4 separate regions of the Homo sapiens genome follow, and regions 2, 3 and 4 are each linked to region 1. The links are contacts of gene promoters, found by promoter capture Hi-C in human tissues and cell types (Jung and others, 2019). All regions are on one chromosome and are shown on one strand. Each heading gives the region's core, a stretch centred on a gene start or on the middle of the fragment in contact. The rest is flanking DNA. Distances are from core to core; before and after follow the strand shown.

Evidence for each region. The method cuts DNA at HindIII sites, captures the fragments that hold promoters and counts their contacts. A contact is called where the count stands out against the background at its distance.
Region 2: a contact is called between a fragment that was not itself captured here and the fragment with the promoter of EVA1C in region 1, in 2 of the 25 tissues and cell types used here (dorsolateral prefrontal cortex and hippocampus).
Region 3: a contact is called between a fragment that was not itself captured here and the fragment with the promoter of EVA1C in region 1, in 2 of the 25 tissues and cell types used here (dorsolateral prefrontal cortex and liver).
Region 4: a contact is called between a fragment that was not itself captured here and the fragment with the promoter of EVA1C in region 1, in 2 of the 25 tissues and cell types used here (H1 embryonic stem cells and dorsolateral prefrontal cortex).

What each region holds. Positions count from the first base shown.
Region 1 is chr21:32,411,033-32,414,293 of GRCh38, forward strand. It overlaps EVA1C (eva-1 homolog C), which reads left to right and starts at 1,674. Exons shown (of 8, transcript NM_058187.5): 1 at 1,674-1,981. The coding sequence starts at 1,822. The HindIII fragment of the contact is 9,144 bases long and covers 1-3,261 here.
Region 2 is chr21:32,774,705-32,777,965 of GRCh38, forward strand. All of the region lies in intron 1 of EPCIP-AS1 (EPCIP antisense RNA 1), which reads left to right. Among named protein-coding and RNA genes, the nearest start is that of EPCIP-AS1, 4.2 kb to the left of the region's middle. The HindIII fragment of the contact is 6,384 bases long and covers 1-3,261 here.
Region 3 is chr21:32,732,320-32,735,580 of GRCh38, forward strand. PAXBP1 (PAX3 and PAX7 binding protein 1) reads right to left here. Exons shown (of 18, transcript NM_016631.4): 18 at 1,580-2,748. The coding sequence ends at 2,631. PAXBP1-AS1 (PAXBP1 antisense RNA 1) reads left to right here. Exons shown (of 4, transcript NR_038879.1): 2 at 1,270-1,338. Among named protein-coding and RNA genes, the nearest start is that of PAXBP1-AS1, 5.8 kb to the left of the region's middle. The HindIII fragment of the contact is 7,980 bases long and covers 1-3,261 here.
Region 4 is chr21:32,713,744-32,717,004 of GRCh38, forward strand. The region is part of intron 2 of SYNJ1 (synaptojanin 1); the gene reads right to left. Among named protein-coding and RNA genes, the nearest start is that of SYNJ1, 13 kb to the right of the region's middle. The HindIII fragment of the contact is 4,447 bases long and covers 1-3,261 here.

The sequences.
Region 1 (3,261 bases), core at 424-2,923:
GCAGACCCACAGGGCAGTGCTGCCCACTCCCAGGACTCGGGAGCATGGCTGCCTCCCTGTGCCAACACTGTCAGTCACTAGCGCAGAACCTGGCACACGTTGGTACCAATTCATATCTAAACTGGATGAATGAACAGACAGAATGGAAAGTACAGGAGGGACCCGAGTTTTGGACAAACATTACTTACCCTGTGGCTCCTAAGTGCTGGGCATCCTTACCCACACTCCCAGCTTCAGTTTCCCTAACCTAGAGAGCGCACACTAATATTTATGTTCAAATGTTATTGGGGAGGTTGAGTTTTTATTTAATATTTGAATGTAGATTTTAAAAATCATTATGCCAGACAGGCTGGGCCTCACTCGATAAACACTGATGTTTAGCATTTAACACACTTTTCCCCAGACTGGAAGAAGAGGCCGAGATCCCAATTCGGTGACCCAGCCCTTGCTGGAGTACTAGGTGGTATCTAATGCCATCCACCCTTCCGGGATCTTTACGGCCCACCTCTGAGTGGGTCCCACGGGGACCCTCAGCCGCATTTTCTTTCTGCAGGCCTCCCTGCACACTCTGGGGCGTTCGCAGCTCTGGAGCCCGCGGGGCAGTGCGTCCGGCCCCGCCCTGGGCCTCATTATCTACGTTTCCGCGTCACGCCCGCCGCGAACTTGGCAGGCCCTCCCGCCGGGTTCGGGAACACTGTGTGCCTAGCGCCCGCCCTCCTCCCTTCCGCCGGCCCCGCGCGATCCATAGGGTTTGGGTCGCTGGGCGCCAGGTACCCGCACCCGGCAAGCAGCCACGGAGCCCCTCGCGCACTTGTCCTCGATACCCTTGAGTTGGGGCTACGCAGGCCACTCCTAGGCCACTGGCTGGGCGTCCGAACGTGGGTCACCCCGCGCACAGTCTAGAGGTTCAGAAAGATGCTGTGGCCCACTTTAAAACAAAGCCCAATTATTAGCGCTCGGCGGCTGTTTGCGCCGGTGCAGTGTCAGATCCCCCAGCGCTGCGGACAACCAGCACCCAAAGGAAGCCGAGCTGGAGCTAAAGATCCCGGCTCCGGAGCCATCTGACCGGTTTTGAGACCTCCAGCTCGTCGCCGTCCTGGCTGCGAGAGCTTGGGCACGGCGCCGGGGCTCAGTCTCCTCTTCTGTGGAATGGCGATAACTGTATGTGCCGGGTGACTGCACGTGGCGCGCGGCGGGTGGCGGGGATGGCAGCGGTGCGATCCCACGCCTCCAGGACCCCACCTTCCTGCGGCCCCCGATCGGCCCCGCCCCGGGGGCGCCCCAGCTGCACGCGCGGCGCTGGCTCCAAAGTGCGTCACGGGCACCGGCCGCGCTCCTTCTGCCGCCAGGGCGAGGCTGGCACCCGGCCAGCGCGGGCAGGGCCACGGGTGCCCGGCTGTTTCCCGGGTGTGGAAGGCGCTCAAGGTGCGCGGCCCGGGGCGCGCTACTGGGGGCGCCCTCCGCGGTGGGCAGCGCGCCAGGGATCGGCCTGGGCAGCCGCGGGGCGCGCGAAGGCTGCGCTTTCCCTACGGCCCCCCTCGCTTCCTCCGGCACGGCGGCAACGGAGATTTCCTCTCGGGGAAACTACGCGGATCCTTTTCGGGGATCCTCGCCCCGCCCCAGTTCTCCGCCCCCTCCCCTTTGCTGGGGCGCCTGGGCTGGCCCGCGCAGGGGAGGAGGCTCTGGCAGCCTGGGCAGGGAGGCGGCGGGGGGCCGCGGAGCCGCTGGCCATCGATTCTCCCCGCCATGTGACGCCGTCCTTAGCCCTGCGACCCCCAGCGCGTCCCGGGCCTGCGCCTCCGCCCCGCCGCGCAGCGCACGATGCTTCTGCCGGGACGCGCACGCCAACCGCCGACGCCCCAGCCCGTGCAGCATCCCGGCCTCCGCCGGCAGGTAGAGCCGCCGGGGCAGCTCCTGCGCCTCTTCTACTGCACTGTCCTGGTCTGCTCCAAAGAGATCTCAGCGCTCACCGACTTCTCTGGTAAGAGCGCCCTCCCTGGCTGTGTGCCCCCGGCACCGCGGAGCGCCCAGGTGAACCCTCGACTGGGGGCAGCCGCACCAGTGGACACGGCGGGGTAGGATTAAAGTTGAGGCGTGCTCACAGACACTTGTCTGGTGTGAGCCCTTGGCATATAGATGGCTGCGAGTGAAGTGGCGACGGGGGACTGCCACTCCCAAGAAGGAAGGGTGTGTAATGTATTCAGAGTTTCTCGCCCTGCTGTTGACCTCGTCAATTTCCTAGCATTAGGGACCTGGTCCTGAGCCACGCTCGTTCTATGGAGGCTCCTTAAACTGAGCCCTGTGCCGCGCCCAGCGCTGTAAAATACACGTGTTGTGGTCGGAGGCGTTGCGCCGCGTTTGTCACCCGCGTAGCCCGTTTGCCCATGTAAGGAGACTAGCCCAGGGGACACTTGACCTCGAGTCCACATTGGCAGGTAGAAAGGGAAGCCCGCGGGGACTGGAGGTCTGGTGGAAAGGCAGTGAGGGATGAGGAGATACTTAGATAAGAGAGAGGAGCCTCTCTGCCAAAGTGTACCAGGGTCCTCCCTCTCCAATTCCAGTTTCCTTCACAGAAAATAATGACTTCCTACTCTCGAATAAACTAGGAGGCTTTTCTTTTTGGGAATCGTGATCCAGGCTCTCGCAGCGGATCTCAGATAGTTCTGAGCTTACAGGTGTGACGCCCCAAAGTGAAAGGGATTTCTAGGTTGACGATAGCCATAGGAGCACATGCTTAAGTTAGCGCTGCAGTTGCTTAAGGTAACACATGTCCTTGCCGCTGAAGCACACCTGGATCTCCCTCTGGCAAGGCTGGAGGCCTTCAGCCTTCCCCAGCCCAGCTTAGGGAGCAGCTCTGAGCCCCATACTCCTCCTTCTCCAGGGATCTTCTGCCAAGTTCAGGCTTTGCACAGTCGGTCCCTATCGGGTCCTCAGTGCAGAGTCTTTTGCAACATAATGGTGGTAAAGGGAGTCCTCCTCAGTCCTGTTTGTGCAGTAGGCTAGTACATAGCAAAGAACAAGGGCAAACCAGAAGTTGAGATGGGGTTCTAGTTTACTTACAGAGAATGTCATTGTTAGTGGAGAGCCCTTAGGTCAGAGGTTCTTTGCTTTGAATATGTAATATCAAGGCAGTATTCCTACCTAGCAAAGGAAGCCAAGATAAGGCCTATTTGGCAAGCCACCCACGGCCCTTAAAATCAAGCATCCCAGGATCAGAACTCTGTGGTAAGAGTTGTGGGGAAATGCATCAGACTTTTCAAG
Region 2 (3,261 bases), core at 296-2,795, 360 kb after region 1:
GGATACATTCTGAGAAATATGCCATTAGGCAATTTCATCACATACTTACACAAACCTAGTGGTGTAGCCTACTACATACCTAGGCTGTATGGCATAGCTTATTGCTTCTAGGCTACAAACCTATACGGCATGTTACTGTACTGAATACTGTAGCACTTGTAACACAATGGTATCTGTATCTAAACATAGAAAAGATACAGTAAAAATACAGCATAAAAGCTTTAAAAATGGTGCACCTGTATAGGACACTTACCAGGAATGGAGCTTACAGGACTGGAGGTTGCTCTGGGTGAGTCAGTGAGTGAGTGGTAAGTGAATATGAAGGCCTAGGTTATTACTGTACACTGCTGTAGATTTTATAAACAACTGTACACTTAGGCTACACTAAATGTTTAAACATATTTCTTTCTTCAATAATAAATAGCTTACTATAACTTTTTTACTTTATAAGCTTTCTTATTTTTTAAAACTTTTTTGTTGTTATTGTTTTGTTTTGTTTTTGTTTTTTGAGATGGAGTCTCACTCTGTCACCCAGTCTGGAGTGCAGTGGCGCGATCTCAGCTCACTGCAACCTCCACCTCCCAGGTTCAAGCAATGAGACAGAGTCTCACTCTATCCCCAGGCTGGAGTGCAGTGGCGTGATCTCAGCTCACTGCAACCTCTGCCTCCCAGGTTCAAGCAATCCTCCCACCTCAGCTTCCCAAGTAGCTGGGATTATAAGCGTGCACCACCATGCCCAGTTAATGTTTGTATTTTTAGTAGAGATGATCCGCACACCCCACAAGCTCCTGTGTTGGCCAGGCTGGTCTTGAACTCCTGACCTCAAGTAATCTGCCCACCTCGGCCTCCCAAAGTTCTGGGATTGCAGGCATGAGCCAACGTGCCCAGACATTTTTTAAAACTTCTTGACTTTTTTTTTTTTTTTTTTGAGACAGAGTTTTGCTCTTGTTGCCCAGGCTGGAGTGCAGTAGTGCAACCTCAGCTCACCGCAACCTCTGCATCCAGGGTTCAAGAAGTTCTCCTGCCTCAGCCTCCTGAGTAGCCGGGATTACAGGCATGCACCACCACGCCCAACTAATTTTGTATTTTTAGTAAAGACAAGGTTTCTCCATGTTGGTCAAGGCAGTCGCAAACTCCCGACCTCAGGTCGTCCACCTGCCTCAGCCTCCCAAAGTATTGGGATTACAGGCGTGAGCCATCGTGCCCGGCATAACACTTTGCTTAAAAAAATACACATTTACAGCTGCACAAAAATATCTTCTATTTTTACCATTTTAATTATTTTGTTTTACTTTTTAAACTTTAAAGCTAAGACACAAACACACACATCAGCCTAGGCCTACGCAAGGTCAGGATTATCAGTGTCACTGTCTTCCACTTCCACATCTTGTCCCACTGGAAGGTCTTCAGGAAAAATAACAAACATGGAGCTATCATGTCCTATAAAAACAATATCTTTTTCTGGAATACCTCCTGAAGGACCTGCCTGAGGCTCTTATATACTTAACTTTTTTTTTTGTAAGTAAAAAGAGTGCGCTCTAAAATAACAGTAAAAAGTATAGTATAGGCGTCCCCAACCACCTCCCACCCCTGCAGGAGGCAAGTGGCCAAAGGTAGACATTGTTCTCTCTCTTTTTTTAAGTTTATTTTTAAAATGTTAGAAGCCACAAAGCCAATAAATATGTAAAAAATATTCTATATACATTAGCTGATGTCTTAGTCCATTTGGGCTGCTACAACAAAATACCATTAATTGGGTGACTTATAAACAACAAATTTATTTCTCACAGCTCTGGATGCTGGGAAATCCAAGGTTAAGGCACTGGCAGATTTGTGTTCCGGTGAGGGTCTGCTTCCTGGTTCATAGATGGTACCTTCTAGCTGAGTCCTCACATGGTGGAAGGGAGACAACTGTGGTTTCTTCAGCTTCTTACCAGGGCACTAATCCCATTCATAAGGGCTCCACCTTTGTGACCTAGTCACATTCCAGCATCTCTACCTCCTCTGCTATCACACTGGGGATTAGTGTTTCAATATATACATTTGGGGGGAAGATAAATAGCTGGGCCTTAACAACTGATGAGGCCTCACTAAATATGCGAGAAATAAGATAAAGCAGGGGTCCCCAACCTCCAGGCCACAGACTGGTACCAGTCAGTGGCCTGTTAGGAACCGAGCTGCACAAGAGGAGGTGAGCGGCGGGTGAGCAAACAAAGCTTCATCTGTATTTGCAGCCACTCTGCATCACTCGCATTACCACCTGAGCTCTGTCTCCTGTCAGATCTGCAGCAGCATTGGATTCTTACAGGAACACGAACCCTATTGTGAACTCTGCACATGAGGGATCTAGCTTGTGCACTCCTTATGAGAATCTAATGCCTGATGACCTGTCACTGTCTCCCATCACCCCCAGATGGGACCATCTGGTTGCAGGAAAACAAGCTGAGGGCTCCAACTGATTCTACATTATGGTGAATTGTATAATTATTTCATTATATATTACAATGTAATTGTAATAGAAATAAAGTACACAGTAAATGTAATGCATTTGAATCATCCTCAAACCATCCTCCACCCCCTAGTTCATGGAAAAATTGTCTTCTATGAAACCAGTCCCTGGTGTCAAAAAGGTTGGGGACTACTGGTATAGCAAATACATAAACCAGTAACATAGTCATTTATTATCATTATGGAGTTTTATGTGGTATATGTAATTGTATGTGCTATACTTTTATACCACTGAAACAGAGGTTTCTTAATACCAGCATCACCACACACATGAGTAATGTATTGTGCTACAGTATTATGATTGCTATGATGTCACTAGATGATAGGAATTTTTCAGCTCCATTGCAATCTTTTTTTTTTTTTTTTTTTGAAACAGAGTGTAGCTCTGTTGCCCAGGCTAGAGTGCAGTGGTGCAATCTCTGCCTCCAAGTTCAAGCGATTCTTGTGCCTCAGCCTCCTGAGGAGCTGGGATTACAGGCACGTGCCACCACACATGACTATTTTTGGAATTTTTAGTAGAGACGAGCTTTCACCATTTGGCCAAGCTGGTCTCGAACTCCTGACCTCAGGTCATCCGCCTGCCTCACCCTCCCAAAGTGCTGAGATTACTGGCATGAGCCACGGCGCCTGGCCGCATTGCAATCTTATGGGACCACCACCATATATGCAGTCCATCATTGATCAAAACATCATTATGCAGTGCATGGTTGTATTCAGATACAACAGATTTATTTATAACTTTGCCAGTCTACC
Region 3 (3,261 bases), core at 209-2,708, 320 kb after region 1:
CCTCTTATAGGCAATGTGGACCATACCTGCTTTCCTGAGAGATCAGCAAATTGGGTTTGGTCATCAGGAAATTCTGTCTCTCAGATCTCATACTAGCAAGGAGACCCCTGGTTGTACCTGTCAGAGCTGCCAGTTGGCCCTGCTGAAACTTTAGAACTGCACCAATGTCTAAGACTTTCATCCTCCTTCCTTCACACAGGTGAGACCTGCCTGCCTCATTGTCTGACAGCTTTCCCAGCCTCCTCCAGGCTCCCCTCCGTTTTCTCTTATACGCATTCCCCCAATAAACTTCCTGTACATTTAATACCATCTCAGTGTCTGCTCCCAGGAGGACCCTAACTGACACACTGGGGCATTTAGCCTCCAATTCCTTTTCTCCCTTGGCTGAGATCTGTTCCAGGAAGTATCTCCAGGACACTCCAGCCTGTTGCACAGGCCAAAGAAAAGCCCTCAGGCAGAGGAGCAAATACTTGCAAGAGGACACCAGTGGCAAGAACAGGGACATGGTGAGACTTCGACATCATTGGCTACAGTAGTACTAGTCACTCTTGACTGTGGTTTATGTTGTTTCAATAAAGTAGCTTTCCTTCTCAAAAACATTTGTCACCTATTTTGGAGTTAATTCAGAGGATTGCTCCAAAAGAAAAAACTGAAAAGCAAAACCAGCTTTATTAAAATGTAACCCTCTGGATTTATCTTTTGATAATTCCTTTCATAAGAAATAATGTCCTTAAGCTATTTCAGGAATAAAAATGTTCTGCTTGGGATAGAAAAACCATTGTTTTATGTACCCTACATCAAATTCCTAGTGTGATGTTCAAACCCATTCCTGAAACCAATATAGCCTGACAGATTTCATAGGATAAAAACTCTATTTTAAGAGTTCTTAAAAGCAGAGTAATTAGTCTAATGGGTTTGGAAATAATATGCAGTTTAAGGCCTAAATGATCTGTATGTGATACAGATACATGTTTTATGTTTTATTCTACTTAAGATGAGGAATAGGTGTTCTGACTTTAATTCTACTTAGTAGGCCAGTAAGGTGTAATGAAAAATTCATCCAGAATGAATACTGATTTGGTTTGGTTCTGTGTCCCCACCCAAATCTCACCTTGAATTGTAATAATCCCCACATCAAGGGCGGGACCAGGTGGAGATAACTGAATCATGGGGGGTGGTTTCCGCCATGCTGTTCTCCTGAGTTCTCATGAAATCTCATGGCTTCATAAGGGACTTCCCCCTTCCCTCAGCACTCATTTCTCTCTGCAGCCACCCTGTGAAGACGTGCCTTTCGTCAAGATTGTAAGTTTCCTGAGGCCTTCCCACCCATGCGGAACTGTGAGTCAATTAAACCTCTTTATAAATTACCTAGTCTCAAGTATGTCCCTATAACAGCGTGAGAATGAACTAATACAAATATGTAGGGATAAGATAAAATTAACAGAGCAAATACAGTGCATGACACTGTTCTGCATATTATGTCCTGATCAAGGGTACACATGGGCCTGCTCACAGTCCCACTTTATTAGAGTCATTTGAAATGCTGCAAATTTAGTCGTCAGGAAAATACAACAAAGGATATATTTAAAAATTAATTTAATGCTTGGCTAAATCTTAATTACATATATAATTATCAAACGATAGTCCTTAATTTCCAAAAAAATTCCTCTTTTGAAAATCACAGAATCAGAAAGCATAAACTTTAAAACAAGTTCTCTGAATATTTACAATGTGGTATAAACATTATAGAAGACCATGGATATTAAATTGCCTGGGTGTGGCTAATCAGCAAGGCGTATTCTTTATTGCATATTTAACTCACATATGTGGGATTTTAAATATGACAGACTACTAAAATTCAAATGCATGTATCTGCAAGCTGGGCAGGGAGTAAAATCATGAATGAGACAGGACGGTCAGCCCAAAACCATGCAATTAGGTTGTGGGTTTATTATTTTCAAAAGTGAAATTTCTATGTTCCATTTGAAACTATGTTGCATATTCATTTAGCATTCACATTAAACCCACATTTGACTCTAACGCTGATTCAAGGAAGAAAGTTCAACATTCACTCAATGACTAAGTCCACAACTCAACTCTCAATGTTAAGGCAGCACAGCTACAGTGATAGCAACGCTAACCAAAAGGTAATGAACATTTAGTCACTTGCCAGCCCTTTTGTTACAACAGTGTAGTAATTTCCCTAAGACAATTTGCTACCGGATAATTTTCTGCTGTTAAAAGGCTTCCTCTGTGGAAAAACACCACAAATTTCCAGTGTGAAAGTAAGTCCATGGTGGTATAAATATATATATGCATAATTACACAATTTACACTGCACACATCGTTTACAGGGGACAATTAACTGAGAGGGTTAATTTAAATGACCATACAAAATACTTCAGTAAACAAAGTATGACAGGCAGTAAAGAAAACATTCATAGACTCCTAGAAATAATCTGAATTCCTTTCATTCTGAAGAAATATCATTTAAGGACACAGTATTGAATATAATGTTTTTTGTATTAAAACAAGAATTGCTATTTTACAGTTTAAGAAACTTTACATATATACAAAATTTACACATTGGGAATGGTAATCAAGCAAATAGGTTTTTCAGTCTCATAGATCTATTTTCCTTCGATCAAAGACTTAAATTCTTTCACATTGTGGTCACTTGCAACAGACATAGCATGATCCAAAGCTCGAACACTTGCAAGGAGTTTTACTATCTGTTTTATGTTTTCCCTAAAAGAAAAAAATATAGCAGCATCTCATTAATTAGTATATCTAAGAGAAAATTTGCTACTGATTTCATGGCTATTTTAGAGCTTCTGCAATCAATTTTTCCAAGCACACATTTTCAAAGAAAGGAAACAGATATGCAAGCTACAGCATGTTAAAAAAAAAAAAGTTTACATTTATCCATATAGAACAAAACTTACATATGTTTAAATGACTAGCCCAGAGACAGGGGACCCATTTTAAAAAAGCAAAACAAAATTCATTGAGATCAATGAGTTTCATTAATATTGAGAAAGAAAAGAAAGCAATCTGTTTTCAAACTACTTCAGAGGCCTGTCTCCCATTCCTTCCCAAACCAGAGTCCTGGCTGTTTTAGCGTATACCTGGAACACAAATCGTTATTTGTGTCTCTTCATCACCAATCTGTCAAGATCCAGCATAATTTCCACTCCACCAAAATTCACTAAATAAAGTATAATCTGACTTTCCTTATCACTCCAGCTAGAAGTCATTCTG
Region 4 (3,261 bases), core at 481-2,980, 300 kb after region 1:
GATTTCCCATATGTCAACATGGATGATTTCCCATATGTCAACATGGATGATTTCATTGAGTGAAAGGAGCTAGATACCAAAGAATACACAGAGAATGACTCCATTTATGTTAAGCTGAAAAACACTTAAAACTATTCCATGATGTAAGAGGTCTGAATAGTGATTATCTTTGCAGATCATAATAAAGATAACTGGGAAGGAGCATGAGGGGATTATTCTCTGGAAAGCTCTCTGGTATGCTAGTAATAATATTCTATTTCTCAACCCAGTTGTGGTAATAAGGGTATGTTCATTCTATAATAATATATCAAGCTGTATGTTTAAGATTTATATACTTTTCTACATGTATTATAATTTAAAAAGCTTATTATTTTAAAAAAATACATTTGAGCAGACGGAACAGCATATGTAAAGACCCTGACGCCAGAAAGAATTTGGTACATTCAGAACTGAAAGGCGGCCAATGAGGTTAGAACATAGAAACCAAGAGGTAAAGTGGTAACAGGTTGAAGAGGGAAGCAGAAACTCGATTTTATTGTAGGTCATCTTAGAGTTTAGATTTTAACTTCAGTGGCCAATCACTGAAGAGTATTAGGCAGGGGATTAATAAGATCTAAACCATGTTTTTTAAAAGACTGGGGTGTAGGCGTGGTAAGTAGAAGCAGAGGGACCAGTTAAGGAGGGAATTGTAATGATCCATGAAAGAGACAACAGTGTCTTGATTGAAACAGAGCCAGCTAAATGCAGGCAGTTGCATGGAATCTCAAGGAAATTAAGAGGAGGAATTGACTAGACTTGGTAATAGAGAGAATGTGTGAAATGTGAGGGGAAGAGGTGTTGAGGATGATTCTTAAGTTGTTTGAAACAACTTGGTAGATGGAGTGCAATCCATTGACATAAGGGAGACTGAAGGAAAGATCAGGTTTGAGGATATGCAGTGGTTGGTAAGACCATCAATACGGTACCTATTCCAACTCTTCCTCATTTGGTAGCCACCAAACAGTTTGTGATACTATGGAAATCACAGAAATTTCTACCTTCTTCTGCCAATGATCTACCTGATGCAAACAGCACATGATATCTCAACAGTCATTTTTGGTTCAGGAATACACAAACACTCAATCCGGTGCAAGGGGAAGTGCATTTTCCTTTTGTGGGTTCTAACCCATTATCTGAGTTTCAAAAAGCTGGATCTCAATTGTGTCATCCAACATAATTATTCAACCCAGCTCTCATCAATCCTACGTCACTTTGCCACAACTAAAAATCTGAAAACTGTACTTTCTACTCCATTCTCTAAGAGAATTGATAAAACTGGGAACAAGATAGGCCAAAGATATATTCCCAATGCTAACCAAGGAAAGACAACTAATGAGCACTAAGGTACAACCAGCTAGAAATTTATTTAATTATAAGATTCTGGAATTTAAAAATAAAAACAAAAAGAGGCCGGGCACGGTGGCTCACGCCTGTAACCCCAGCATTTTGGGGAGCTGAGGCAGGTGGATCACTTGATGTCAGGAGTTCGAGACCAGCCTGGCCAGTAAGGTGAAACCTGTCTCTAATAAAGAGATACAAAAATCAGCTGGGCATGGTGGTGCACACCCATAATTTCAGCTACTCGGGATGCTGAGGCAGGAGAATCACCTGAACCCAGGAGGCTGAGGTTACAGTGAGCCAAGATCATGCCACTGCACTCCAGCCTGGGCAACAAAGTGAGACTCTGTCTCAAAAAAAAAAAAAATTGAAAAAAGAAGATTCATTCTACTTATAGTTCACACATGGTCCACAGGATATTAAATGATTTTGTTTATCTATATTTCAGCAACACATTCAAGAGATTACAGCAATCCTATGGTCCACTAGTGAACAGAATGAAACATAACTCATAATAAATATTTATTGCTAAGAGCTAGTTATATAAGTAAACACACCTTTATATATAAAAAGTTAAATAAGACTATAATGAAATAGAAACACAAAATTTTAATAAGTACATTTAACATATAGAAATATTTAATGTTTTGAGACAATAAAGTTTTTTTTTAATTTTTTTCTTTTCACTGACTCAGTTGGCCCAGAATTATCCAGGAATTTCAAGGGTCTAAAATTTTTTCATTCTGAACTGAGGAAGTAATGAGTATCCAACCAAGAAGAATTTATATATCTCTCCAAATGCCAAATTTATTTTCTCCAAGTGCCAAATCATTCATCATTTGGTTCAGTAGCTATGAAATGCAACCCAATGTGAATGCATGTGCTCACATACGTAACACTACTGATCAGCAATGGCTTATATTTATAAACTCTATTTAAGCTGGAAAAAGATAAAATACAAATTCTTATTAACAACCATTAAAACACTCAAAGCAAATTTTAATTGTCACCAGTAAAAATCATGCACAATTTTTAAAACTATACTTCCTTTTGATACTCTAACAAGGCTAAACAATTGCACTAGCCCATTCCACTCTTTATTGCTTCTTTCACTTTGTATGCTTCTTTCAAAATTTCACTGATTCAGACTTTATAATCTCAAAAGTTTTGAAAATGTTGGTATTGGATACTAAGAAAGGTAATACTACAATATTAAACTGCTAGTCATTATAATTAGCTCATATTTTTTCAACCTTCGAATGTCTGAAAAGTCTTTACATCTTCATTTGTGGTTGGGTACAAAACTCTAGGTGAATGGTTTGGTTTGGTTTCTTCCTTCCAGTACTTTAAAGATGTTCCCAATGTCCTCTGGCTTGGATTGCTTGCAAAGAAAAGTCTACTATCATTCTTATCTTCACTCTTCTGTAAATGTGTGTCTTTTCTTCCTTGGGCTACTTTTAAGATCTTCTCTGTATCACTGGTAAACAGTAACTTGATCATGTATTTGGGTATAGTGTTCTGCTTTATGTTCATTTAGCTTCTTGGATATGTGGATTCATAGCTTTCATGAAATTTGCAAAAGTGCCAGCTATTATTTCTTCAAGTGTTTTTCTTCCCTACCAACTTCTTTCTGGGATCCACATATTCATGTATATTGGGTCACCGGAAGTCGTCCTGCAGTTCACTGATGCTCTGTGTATTTATTTATTTTAGCCTTTTTTCTCTCTGTATTTTATTTTGGACAGTTTCTATTACTATGTCTTCAAGTTTGCCAATCATTTCTTCTACAATGTCTAATATAGTAATCCCTACCACATCTAGAAGTCTAATTTGGGTCTTTCACTTTTTTTTTTTTTAGAGACGGAGTCTTGCTCTGTTGCCCAG